2 separate regions of the Homo sapiens genome follow, and region 1 is linked to region 2. Evidence: promoter capture Hi-C in 16 types of primary human blood cells and fetal thymus (Javierre and others, 2016). All regions are on one chromosome and are shown on one strand. Each heading gives the region's core, a stretch centred on a gene start or on the middle of the fragment in contact. The rest is flanking DNA. Distances are from core to core; before and after follow the strand shown.

Region 1 (5,329 bases), core at 197-2,696, 250 kb before region 2:
GGGTGACAGAGTAAGACTCCACCTGAAAAATAATAAATAAATAAATAAATCACACTTCTGCATGGATCGAAATAAAAAAATAAATACATGAGGAGAAGGGATGGTTCTATCTTTCAGTAGATTTACAATTTATAAATGTAAAAGGAGAAAGGAATATGAAAAATTACCATTAGTCAAATGTCACAGCAATAACTGTTGCAGACAAGATCCACCAATGGATGCTAAAATTTGTGGGCAAAAGTTTGAGAAGGAAAAAGACTTGTATAGTCTCAAAAAATCTCCTTCAAGATAGTTTTTAATTACCAAGGGGAAAATAGTAACTTTACAGTGGAGATGTGCAGCATACAGCAATTTAAGTGATCAAGGTCAGCATCACCAGCAATAAGATACACTGACATCAGGTGCCTCCTGATATCATGCACTGAGAAGGACACAACATCATTTCTGTGGCGTTCTTGGCAAAAACTCATAACTTTAGTCCAGTCATGAGAAAATGTCAGACAAGCCCAAATTGAGGAATATCCTATAAACTAACTGATCAGTACCATTCAAAAGTGTCAAAGTCAGTTGGGCATGGTGGCTCACACCTATAATCCCAAAGCTTTGAGAGGTTGAGGCAGGAGGATTGCTTGAGGCCAATAATTCAAGATCAGCATGTGCAACACAGTGAGACCCCATCCTGACAAAAAAAATTAGCCGGGCACCATGGCATGTGGCTGTAGTCCTAGCTACTCAAGAGGCTGAGGCAGGAGGATCCTCTGAGTCCAGGAGTTGAAGGTTGCAGTGAGCTATGATCGCACCACTGCACTCCAGCCTGGGCGACAGAAAGAGACCCTACCTCTTAAAAAAGCAAAGTGTCAAAGTCATGAAACACAAGCAAATACAGAGGAAATGTTCCTGTCTAGAAGAGACACAACAACTGAACACAATATGGGAGTCTGGAACAGAAAAAAGGAAAAAAAAAGGACATCAATAGAAAAAGTGTTAACATTCAAATAAGATTGGTAGTTTAGTTGATACTGTGATACCAATGTTAATTTCCTAGTTTTGATCATTGTGCTATGCTAATAACAATAGGGGGAGCAGGATGAGAGATATGTGGGACCTCTCTGTACTATCTGCACTTTTCTGCAAGTCTAAAATTATCTAGCATTACAGCTTCCACCTCACTCTCTGCGTTAACTTGCTCACCATCTGGCCCTCCCCACAGTCCCCATCATGTGGCCTAGCTTCCCCTAGAGCAAGTGGACCCAGAGGAGTGTGAGTGAGCCCCCTTGGAAGGGCATTCTCCAGTTCCTTTAAACCCTTCTGATGACTGAACCCCAGGCCAGTGCCTTCGAACCAGAACCATGTGGATAAGCTGCTCTCAAATACTTGACCCACAAAAAGTGTGTGAGACAATAAATGTTTACTGCTTTTACCTCCCAGATTTTCTTTTTGAAATTCAGAAAGTTGTTGTTGCACATAATGACGACTAGATGGCACCAGAATTCCAAGGATAGAAGCAGGCTGCCAGCATCATGAACTCAATTGCCTCTGAGTTTGTTTACAAATTTATTGCAATCCCAATACAGATATCATCAAGGGTTTTGTGTGTGTGTTTGTGTGTGTGTGTGTGTGTGTGTTTTCTTTTTTTGCCCCAGAGCTAGAAAGAAGCAGTAGCAGCCGTGGCTGCCACCAACTTAGGCAGTAGCTCTACCAAATACTTAAAACGATATAAGTGGCCAGGCGTGGTAGCTCATGCCTATAATCCCAGCACTTTGGGAGGCTGAGGCGGGTGGATCACCTGAGGTCAGGAGTTTGAGACCATCCTGGACAACATGATGAAACCCCATCTCTACTAAAAATACAAAAATTAACTGGGCATGGTGGTGGGCACCTGTAATCCCTGCTACTCGAGAGGCTGAGGCAGGAGAATCCCTTGAACCCGGGAGGCAGAGGTTGCAGTGAGCTGAGTTTGCACCATTGCACTCCAGCCTGGGTGACAAGAACAAAACTCCGTATCAGAAAAATTAAAAATAATAAAAATAATACAATAAAAATAAAACAATATGTGCCCTTGCCATGGTTGGGGCTAAAAAAAAAAAAGTAAATAAAAACAATATTTTAAAATGTGTTACTGATGCATAAATAAGCAGACAGATCAAAAGAAGGTTAGAAAATCCAAAGACAGAAGCAATTGCTGATGGAGATTTATATGATGATATAGTAATTTCTAATTCAGGAAGGGACTTTAGAAAAGGTTTTAATTTAGTAGTGTAGAAACAACTAGATGACCACGTGAAAACAAAGAAGCTTGAATGCATTTCCCACCCCATATACCAGATTAAATCCTAAACATATCAAAGATCTAAATGAAAAAACACAGCCTCACAGATAATAAAACACTGGTGAGTTCCCTCATTACCGGGGAGGGTGTAAATTTTCCAAACTATTACTCAAGATCCAGAAGCCATAAAAGAGAATTTTGTTAAATGACCAAACAAAAAAAAAACAAAAACCTTTTGCGTGGCCACAAAATAAGCCATACACAACCAAAAACTACAGATGACAAAATAAGAAAAATATTTACCACTTATATCACAGAAGAGAAAGAGTTAAAATCCCTAAAATATAAAGTGTCTAAAAATTAAGGGAAAAAAAACAAGAAACCTATTGAAAGCGGGCAAGATACATAAACAGAGAGTTCACGTTAAAAAATGCAAATGCCACCTAAATTTATAAAAATAGCCAGACACAGTGGCTCATCCCTGTAATCCCAGTACTTTCGAAGGGAAGGTGAGGGGATTGATTGATCCCAGGAGTTTAAGACCAGCCTGAGCAAGATGACAAGACCTTGTCTCTAAATAAAATAAAATAAATTAGCTGAGTGTGGTGGCACACACCTGTGATCCCAGCTACTCGGGATGCTGAGGTGGGAGGATGGGAGGACTGCTGGAGCCCAGGAGTTCAAGGCTGCAGTGAGCTATGATTGCACCACTGCACTCCAGCCTGTGTGACCGAGTAAGACCCTGTCTCAAAAAATAAAAAATAAAATATCACACCTGTAATCCCAGAATTTTGAGAGGCTGAGGCAAGCAGATCACCTGAGGTCAGGAGTTCAAGACCAGCCTGGCCAACATGGCATGGTGCATGCCATGTTGCAGCCAGGCAACATGGTGCAGCCAGGCATGGTGGCATGCACCTGTAATCCCAGCTACTCAGGAGGCTGAGGCAGGAGAATCGCTTGAGCCTGGGAGACGAAGGTGGCAATGAGCCAGCCGAGATTGTGCCACTCCACTCCAGCCTGACTGGCAAAGCAAGAGCCTGTCTCAAAAAATAAAAAATAAACTAAAGCTCAGCCTCACTCATAATAAAAGAAACACAATTAAAACTGCCCTGAGATCCTATTTCTCACCTAACAGATTAGCAAAAATCCAAATGTTGGACAGCCCTCTTGTTGGCAACGCTGTGGGGAAACAGGGACTCTTCCATTTTACTGATGGAATATAAAAAGATAAAACCTCCATGGAGGAGAATTTGGCAATATCTAGTGAATTTGCCCTTTGACTCAGCAATCCTACTTCTAGGAATTAGGTCCAAAGACACAGACAGAAATAGGAAACTTCATATGAACGTGCCTCTTCACTGGAGCCCTACGCATGATAGCAAAAAACTGGAAACTATTGCAATAGCCATGAAGAGGGTGCTGCTTAATTCAACTATGCTATATCCACAAATACAGAGCACTGTACAGCTGTGAAAATAAGATATATTAAGATTACATATATATGTGATGTGTGTGTATGTACAAGTGTGTACACACGTGTTTTTTTGTTTTGTTTTTTTGACTATTTGTTTGTTTTGTTTTGTTTTGAGACAGTCTTGCTCTGCCGCCCAGGCTGGAGTGCAATGGCACGATCTCAGCTCACTGTAACTTGCACCTCCCAGGATACAAGCCATTCTCCTGCCTCAACCTCCCTAGTAGCTGGGACTACAGGCACGTACCATGACGCCCTGCTAATTTTTGTATTTTTAGTAAAGATGGGGTTTTGTCATTTTTACCAGGCTGGTCTTGAACTCCTGACCTCAAGTGATCCGCCCACCTCAGCCTCCCAAAGGTCCTGGGATTACAGGCGTGAGCCACCACACCCGGCCCATGTGTACACACATATATAGTCACCTCCAAGATGTAGTTAAGTGAAAAAACCAAGGTGCAAATTGGTATGAACAGGATGTACCTTTTGCTCAATAGAGAGGAAAATGAATACATATGTTCATTGGTTTATATTTTCCAAGTAAATGGAATGTCAAAACAATTTTTGCGATTGGGACTCAATCACCCACAAAACAATGGTTTTGGTTTTTTGTTTTCTTGAGACAGGGTCTTGTTCTGTCACCCAGGATGGAGTGCAGTGGTATGATCACAGCTCACTGCAGCCTCCACTTCCTGGGCTCAAGCGATCCTCCCACCTCAACCTCCAGAGTAGCTGGGACTGCAGACGTGTGTGACCACGCCCAGCTAATTTTTTACTTTTTATAGAGATGGGGTCTCATTATGTTGCCCAGGCTAAAACAATGTCTTAAAGTAATTTAAGATATATTAATTTGACATAAATCCCTAATGGGGTATATCCTCCTGGAAAAAAAAGCACCATAAGAAAATCTTAAACTATATTTAGTCATCATATTACTAGTGATAGTATTGATATTTTAAAATTTTATATATGCACATATATATTCAGATATGCATATATATTCACATACTTCAAAACGTATGCTGATGTCACTACAATTCAAAATTCTCTTTTTTTCTTTGAGAATTCAACATTCTCTGAATAAGAAAAAAGAGGCATAATAATAACATTTTAGAAGTTGTAAAGGGCAAAACTAAACTATGGACACACATTTGGATAACTAATTACTATAAAGAAACACAGAGATGATTGCTATAAAAGTCAGGCTGGCCAGGCACGGTGGCTCACGCCTGTAATCCCAGCACTTTGGGAGGTCCAGGCGGGCGGATCACCTGAGGTCAGGAATTCAAGATCAGCCTGGTCAACATGGCGAAACCCCATCTCTACTAAAAATACAAAAAAATTACCTGAGTGTGGTGGTGCACATCTGTAATCTCGCTACTGGTGAGGCTGAGGCATGAGAATCACTTGAACCTGGGAAGTGGAGGTAGCAGTGAGCCGAGCTCATGCCACCTCACTCCAGCCTGGATGACAGAGTGAGACTCTATCTTAAAAAAAAAAAAAAAAAAAAGTCAGGCTGAGGGTTAATTTTGGTAGAGAGAAGGGAGGGGCTGGGCCTGGGCGCCTGGGCTAGGGCACGTGGAGAGGCTTAT
Region 2 (5,392 bases), core at 15-2,514:
CTCACGCCTGTAATCCCAGCACTTTGGGAGGCTGAGGCAGGTGGATCACAAGGTCAGGAGTTTGAGACCAGCCTGGCCAACATGGCGAAACTCCATCTCTACTAAAAATACAAAAATTAGCCGGGCATGGGTGGCGGGCACCTGTATTCCCAGCTACTCAGGAGGCTGAGGCAGGAGAATCGCTTGAACCCGGGAGGCGGAGGCAGTGAACCAAGATCATGCCATCATCACCCCGTCTCTGATAAGTACAAAAAAAAAATTAGCTGGGCGTGGTGGCGCATCCCTGTAATCCCAGCAACTCGGGAGGCTGAGGCAGGATAATCACTTGAACCCAGGAGGCGGAGTTGCAGTGAGCTGAGATTGTGCCACTGCACTCAAGCCTGGGTAACAGAATGAAACTCCGTCTCAAAAATAATAATAATAATAATTTTAAAAAATTAAAAAAAAAATCTAGGGCTGGAAGAAGCTGGGAAAAAGACAAGGAACTAGGGACGCAGCCACCCTAGACGACCCCTACTCACCTTGACCCTGAAGGGGCAGCGGGTCTGGTCCACCAGCATGATGTTCTCAGGCTTGAGATCAGCGTGGATGATAGCCAGCTCCTTGAGCCGGGCCAGGGCTGTGAGCACCTGCAGGGTGACTGTACGGATGTGGCGGGCGGGGAGGGGCGCGAAGTTGTTCTCCTTCTGGAACTCGAAAAGGTTTTGCTCCAGCAGCTCAAAGACCAGGTAGAACTTGAGGGCGTCATGGAAGAACTCAAGGAAGCGGATGACGTGGGCCTCTTCAGGGTCTAGGCCTCGCATGCAGTGCAGCAGCTTCAGCTCGTTCTTGATGATGCGGTTGCGGTAGGCGTCATTCTTGAGGATCTTGATGGCCACCATCTCGCCCGTGCTCCGCCGCCAGCCCTTGGCTACCTCCCCGAAGGTCCCCTTGCCCAAGACCTCGATGATGTCGTAGCAGTCAGTCTCCGACTGGATGGTGGACATGGTGCCGCTGCTGCCAGACACCGCCCTGCCCAGGCCCCTGTACCACTGGCTCTGCCGCCCAGGCCTCCCGCCTGGCTGCTGACACAGCAGGCCCCCCAGTGGGGGAAAGAGAACCGCACTCGTGTCTCCTCCTATGAGGTTGGCCCCTGCTTCCCTGGCACCCCCAAACCCCCAGGCCACACTGTCAGTCTGCCAGGGGCTGCACCCCTCCCCAGAAACCCTCCTGGCTTGGGATGAGGGGCCCCAGGCCCCACCGAATGGGTTCCAGCGCTGTTGAGTGGCTCTGGTTCTGTTGTTGGAGACCTGAGCCCTGGCTGGAGTGGGGGTGGGGTACCAGGCTGGGCCCCCTCCCCCGCCCAGTGGCGGAATCTTGCAAAGACCAAACAGGTGAAGTGTTGACAGAGGGGGGTCTAATCGTGGGCCTTGGGCATACAGGAATGGGGATAAGGCAGGAGTGAGGAAAGGTGGGCTTCTTGAGCTTGGGAGATGTGATGTGTGTGTGTCTGTGTTCAGAAAACTCCTGTCCCAGTCTGTGGCTACTGTGGGGTGAGGTTGTAAAAGGCCCTGAATGCCAGGCTAAGGAGTTTGGATTCTGTTCTGAGGGCACTGGGGAGCCACAGAAGGGCTTTGAGCAGGGGAGGGCAGGGTCAGATATGAGTGTCAGAAAGTTACTGTATGAAAAGGGATAGGTTGGAGCGGGTAAGAGTGGAAGCCCCAAGCCAGGGAAAGAGTCCAGGACAGGGCACAGATGGGAGAGGTTGGGGAGGAGAGGGCGAGGCCAATGGATGAGACACTCAAAAGGCCAGGAGAAGCAGCCGTGAGACCGACGGTTTGAGGGAAAGGCGGGAGCTGTCTAAGAACGGGCCTAGGGCTCTGGGATGAAGGGGCAGTCCCCGAGAAATGGACATGGATAAGAAGCAGCTTGGGGGAGATGTTGAGGCCAAATTAGAAAATGTATTTATTTTTGGCTGGGTGCGGTGGGTCACGCCTGTAATCCCAGCACTTTGGGAGGCCAAGGAAGGCAGATCATAAGGTCAGGAGATCGAGACCATCCTGGCTAACACGGTGAAACTCTGTCTCTACTAAAAATACTAAAAATTAGCCAGGCATAGTGGAGGGCGCCTGTAGTCCCAGCTACTCGGGAGGCTAAGGCAGAAGAATAGCTTGAACCCGGGAGGTGGAGGTTGCAGTGAGCCGAGATTGCACCACTGCACTCCAGCCTGGGTGACAGAGCGAGACTCCATCTCAAAAAAAAAAAAAAAGTGTTCATTTTTATTTATCTTTTTAATTTTTTGTAGAAATGGGGTCTCACTATGTTGTCCAGGCTGGTCTCAAGTGATCCTCCTGGCCTCAAGTGATCCTCCTGCCTCAACCTTCCAAAGTGCTGGGATTGTAGACATGAGCCACCACTCCAGCCAGATTAGAATATTTAACAGCGGGCCGGGCTCGGTGGCTCATGCCTGTAATCCCAGCACTTTGGGAGGCTGAGGCAGGTGGATCACCTGAGGTCGGGAGTTCGAGACCAGCCTGACCAACATGGAGAAACCCCGTCTCTACTAAAAATACAAAATTAGCCGGGTGTGTTAGCACATGCCTGTAGTCCCAGCTACTCAAGAGGCTGAGGTCGGCAGGCTGAGGTATGAGAACTGCTTGAACGCGGGAGGTGGGGTTGCAGTGAGCCAAGATTGCGCCATTGCACTCCAGCCTGGGCAACAAGAGTGAAACTCCGTCTCAAAAAAAAAAAAAAAAGTAAAAGAAAATGTAACATCAAAACATTTAAACAAGGATGAAGTTCTTTAGAAGTCTTATCTGATCCTTACAACATACAAAGTAGGGATTTTATGGAAGAGAAAATCAAGGCACAAAGAAGTTTTTAAAGTGCCTGGCCAGGAGTGGTGGCTTACGCCTGTAATCCCAGCACTTTGAGAGGCCAAGGTGGGCGGATCACCTGAGGTCAGGAGTTTGAGACCAGCCTTGCCAACATGACAAAACCTCAACTCCACTAAAAATACAAAAATTAGCTGGGCATGGTGGTATACACCTGTAGTTCCAGCTACTTGGGAGGCTGAGATCGGGAGGCTGAGGTATGAGAATCGCTTGAACCTGGAAGGCGGAGGTTGCTGTGAGCCAAGATTGCACCACTGCACTCCAGCATGGGCAACAGAGTGAGACTCTGTCTCAAAAAATAAAAATAAATAAATAAATGATAAAATAAAATGCCTAAGGTCACTCAAGTGACTGCCAGAGACAGCCTCTGACCCTAAGCAGCCTGGCTCCAGCGCCAAACTCTGAACCACCACCCACACAACCTCCTAAAAACCAGGAGACCTCTGGAGAAGGGGTGCAGAAGCTGCTGGGTCCCCAAGGGGATGCAGGAGAGAGTTTGGGAGTTGTCAGCACAGAGAGGAGGCGTGGAAGCCATGGGGGAGGGTGATGCACCCTAGGGAGGGTGTGGGGGTGGACAAGGGCCCGGGAGGAACCTCCGGTGCCCAAGGAGCACGGGGAGAGAGAGGTGTGGGGAAGAGGAGCAAGTGTCAGGAAGATCGAAGGGGCCTTGAAGAGTCAGGACAAGAGAGACAAAGGAAACCCTCAGGCGTGGCCACGGGGAGGTCACTGCTGACACAGACAAGGTAGGAGGAAAACCCCAAATGCTGGGGTCTTGGAAATGGGGGTGCACTGTGAGTGTAGATAACTCCTGCCATGTTTGGTGGGGGCAAAGAAAAAGTGTGTGGTGAGACAGTGACCTGAGGAGGGCTGGCTGGAAGGGACAAGGTACTCAAGTGAGTGGGGGATTCTGCCAGGCCCCTCATCCACTGAGACAGGATAGGGAGATGTGAGGAGAGTGGGGGGCTGTCGGGGCGAGACTTGGGACTGGATATTGAGTCTCCTTAGTCCAGTGTGGGACATCACAGAGAGACATGGAGGAGGCTGGAGGCCCTGCTGGGAGCCTCAGGACTTAGATCCTGAATTGGGATGGCAGGGATGGATGGCCCATGGCCCCTGGGAGCTGAGACCAGCACTGACAGGTGCTGAGGACCCTGGGACCTAGTTCCAAGAGGCGGCTGTGTTTCTGGGGTAGAGGCTTTGAGGGGACCAGGAGCAGCCTTCCTGGGTGGGGCCAGAGTGGACAGGGCAGTCAAACCAGCCAGACAGGAAAGAGAAGGCCAGGATGTGCAGAAGTGCCCTCACCGGCAGAGGGCAGGTGGGGAGCAACCAGCCTGGTAGGAGTGGGTCCCCCAGGACAGGCAGGCTTCCTGGCAGAGGGGTCCCGAAGCTGTGCTCTGCCAGGGAACATCCCAGAGTCCTCTTTAACAACCCCTGGGAATTCTCAAGGGCTAGGGACGTCTCCCTTCCCACCACGGCCTGTCCCAAGGCCATCCTGAGTCTTTGTTTTTGTTTTTGTTGAAACAGTCTGGCTCTGTTGCCTAGGCTGGAGTGCAGGGGCACCATCAAGGCTCACTGCAGCCTCGACCTCCCGGGCTCAAGTGATCCTCCCACCTCAGCCCCCCGAGTAGCTGGGATTACAGGCACGGGCCACCATGCCTGGATATTTTTTGTATTTTTTGTAGGGATGAGGTTTCCCTATGTTTCCCAGGCTGGTCTTAAACTCCTGGGCTCAAGCAGTCCTCCTGCTTTGGCCTCCCAAGTGCTGGGCTTACAGGCATGAGCCACTGCGCCCAACCCGCCCTGACTCTTCTCAGACCAGGTATGACCGGTTTCTCCCCTCACACCAGAGGTTCCCCTCAGGCCAGGCTCAGGCGACCCCTAGAACCTCCTCTTTGGAGACTGCCTTCTCTGCATCTCCCCTATACCCACTCCTGCCCCTCCCTGCCCCCTATGCACACAGAGGAGACAAATACATGGCTACTTCCAGATTATTTTATTCACATGGCTTGGTGGGGTACAGGCACTCCTGCCAGAGAGACAGGAGCAGGCCTCCCTGCCAGCCCTGGTCAGTCACCCACCTCCCGGCCCTCTTAGGGTTAGTGCTAGTTATCACACACACAACAGCGAGGGGGTAGAGAAAGGAAGGCAAGAAGGGATCCCCATCTGACTAGGGGCTTCAGACAGCCGCAGCCTGAGCCCCCTCCATCCTGGCCGGGCCTGGAGCCCCTGTCTCTGAAAACCCCACGCTGGGCAGCCGCACCCGCAATCCACCCTCTTCCTGGTCCCCACTCCCACTCCGGGCCTTGGGGCTTAGGGACACCCTGGGGAAGCGGAACTTGGGTGACTTCTCTCTGACGGGGGACTTGGGGGCTGCATCGCCCTCCTGCCCCCGAGAGGCTTTAGAAGGGGCCGCCAGGCCTACACGTGGCAAGCGGACCCGGACCCGGCCCCGGCGACCCGAGGCCCCTTCCCCACTGCCCTCTTCCTCCTCCTCCTCCTCCTCCTCGGGGCTGGGGGAC

Evidence for each region. Contacts are between HindIII fragments. The CHiCAGO score rates a contact against its expected background, and 5 or more counts as called.
Region 1: a contact is called between a fragment that was not itself captured here and the fragment with the promoter of HIPK4 in region 2, in 2 of 17 cell types (M0 macrophages and megakaryocytes). The highest score is 5.4, in M0 macrophages.

The regions. Positions count from the first base shown.
Region 1 is chr19:40,138,510-40,143,838 of GRCh38, forward strand. No RefSeq gene overlaps it. Among named protein-coding and RNA genes, the nearest start is that of ZNF780A, 50 kb to the left of the region's middle. The HindIII fragment of the contact is 1,694 bases long and covers 600-2,293 here.
Region 2 is chr19:40,388,917-40,394,308 of GRCh38, forward strand. It overlaps HIPK4 (homeodomain interacting protein kinase 4), which reads right to left and starts at 1,265. Exons shown (of 4, transcript NM_144685.5): 1 at 522-1,265. The coding sequence starts at 986. PRX (periaxin) reads right to left here. Exons shown (of 7, transcript NM_181882.3): 7 at 4,852-5,392. The coding sequence ends at 5,050. RefSeq lists enhancers at 618-1,167, 1,168-1,717. The HindIII fragment of the contact is 16,517 bases long and covers 1-5,392 here.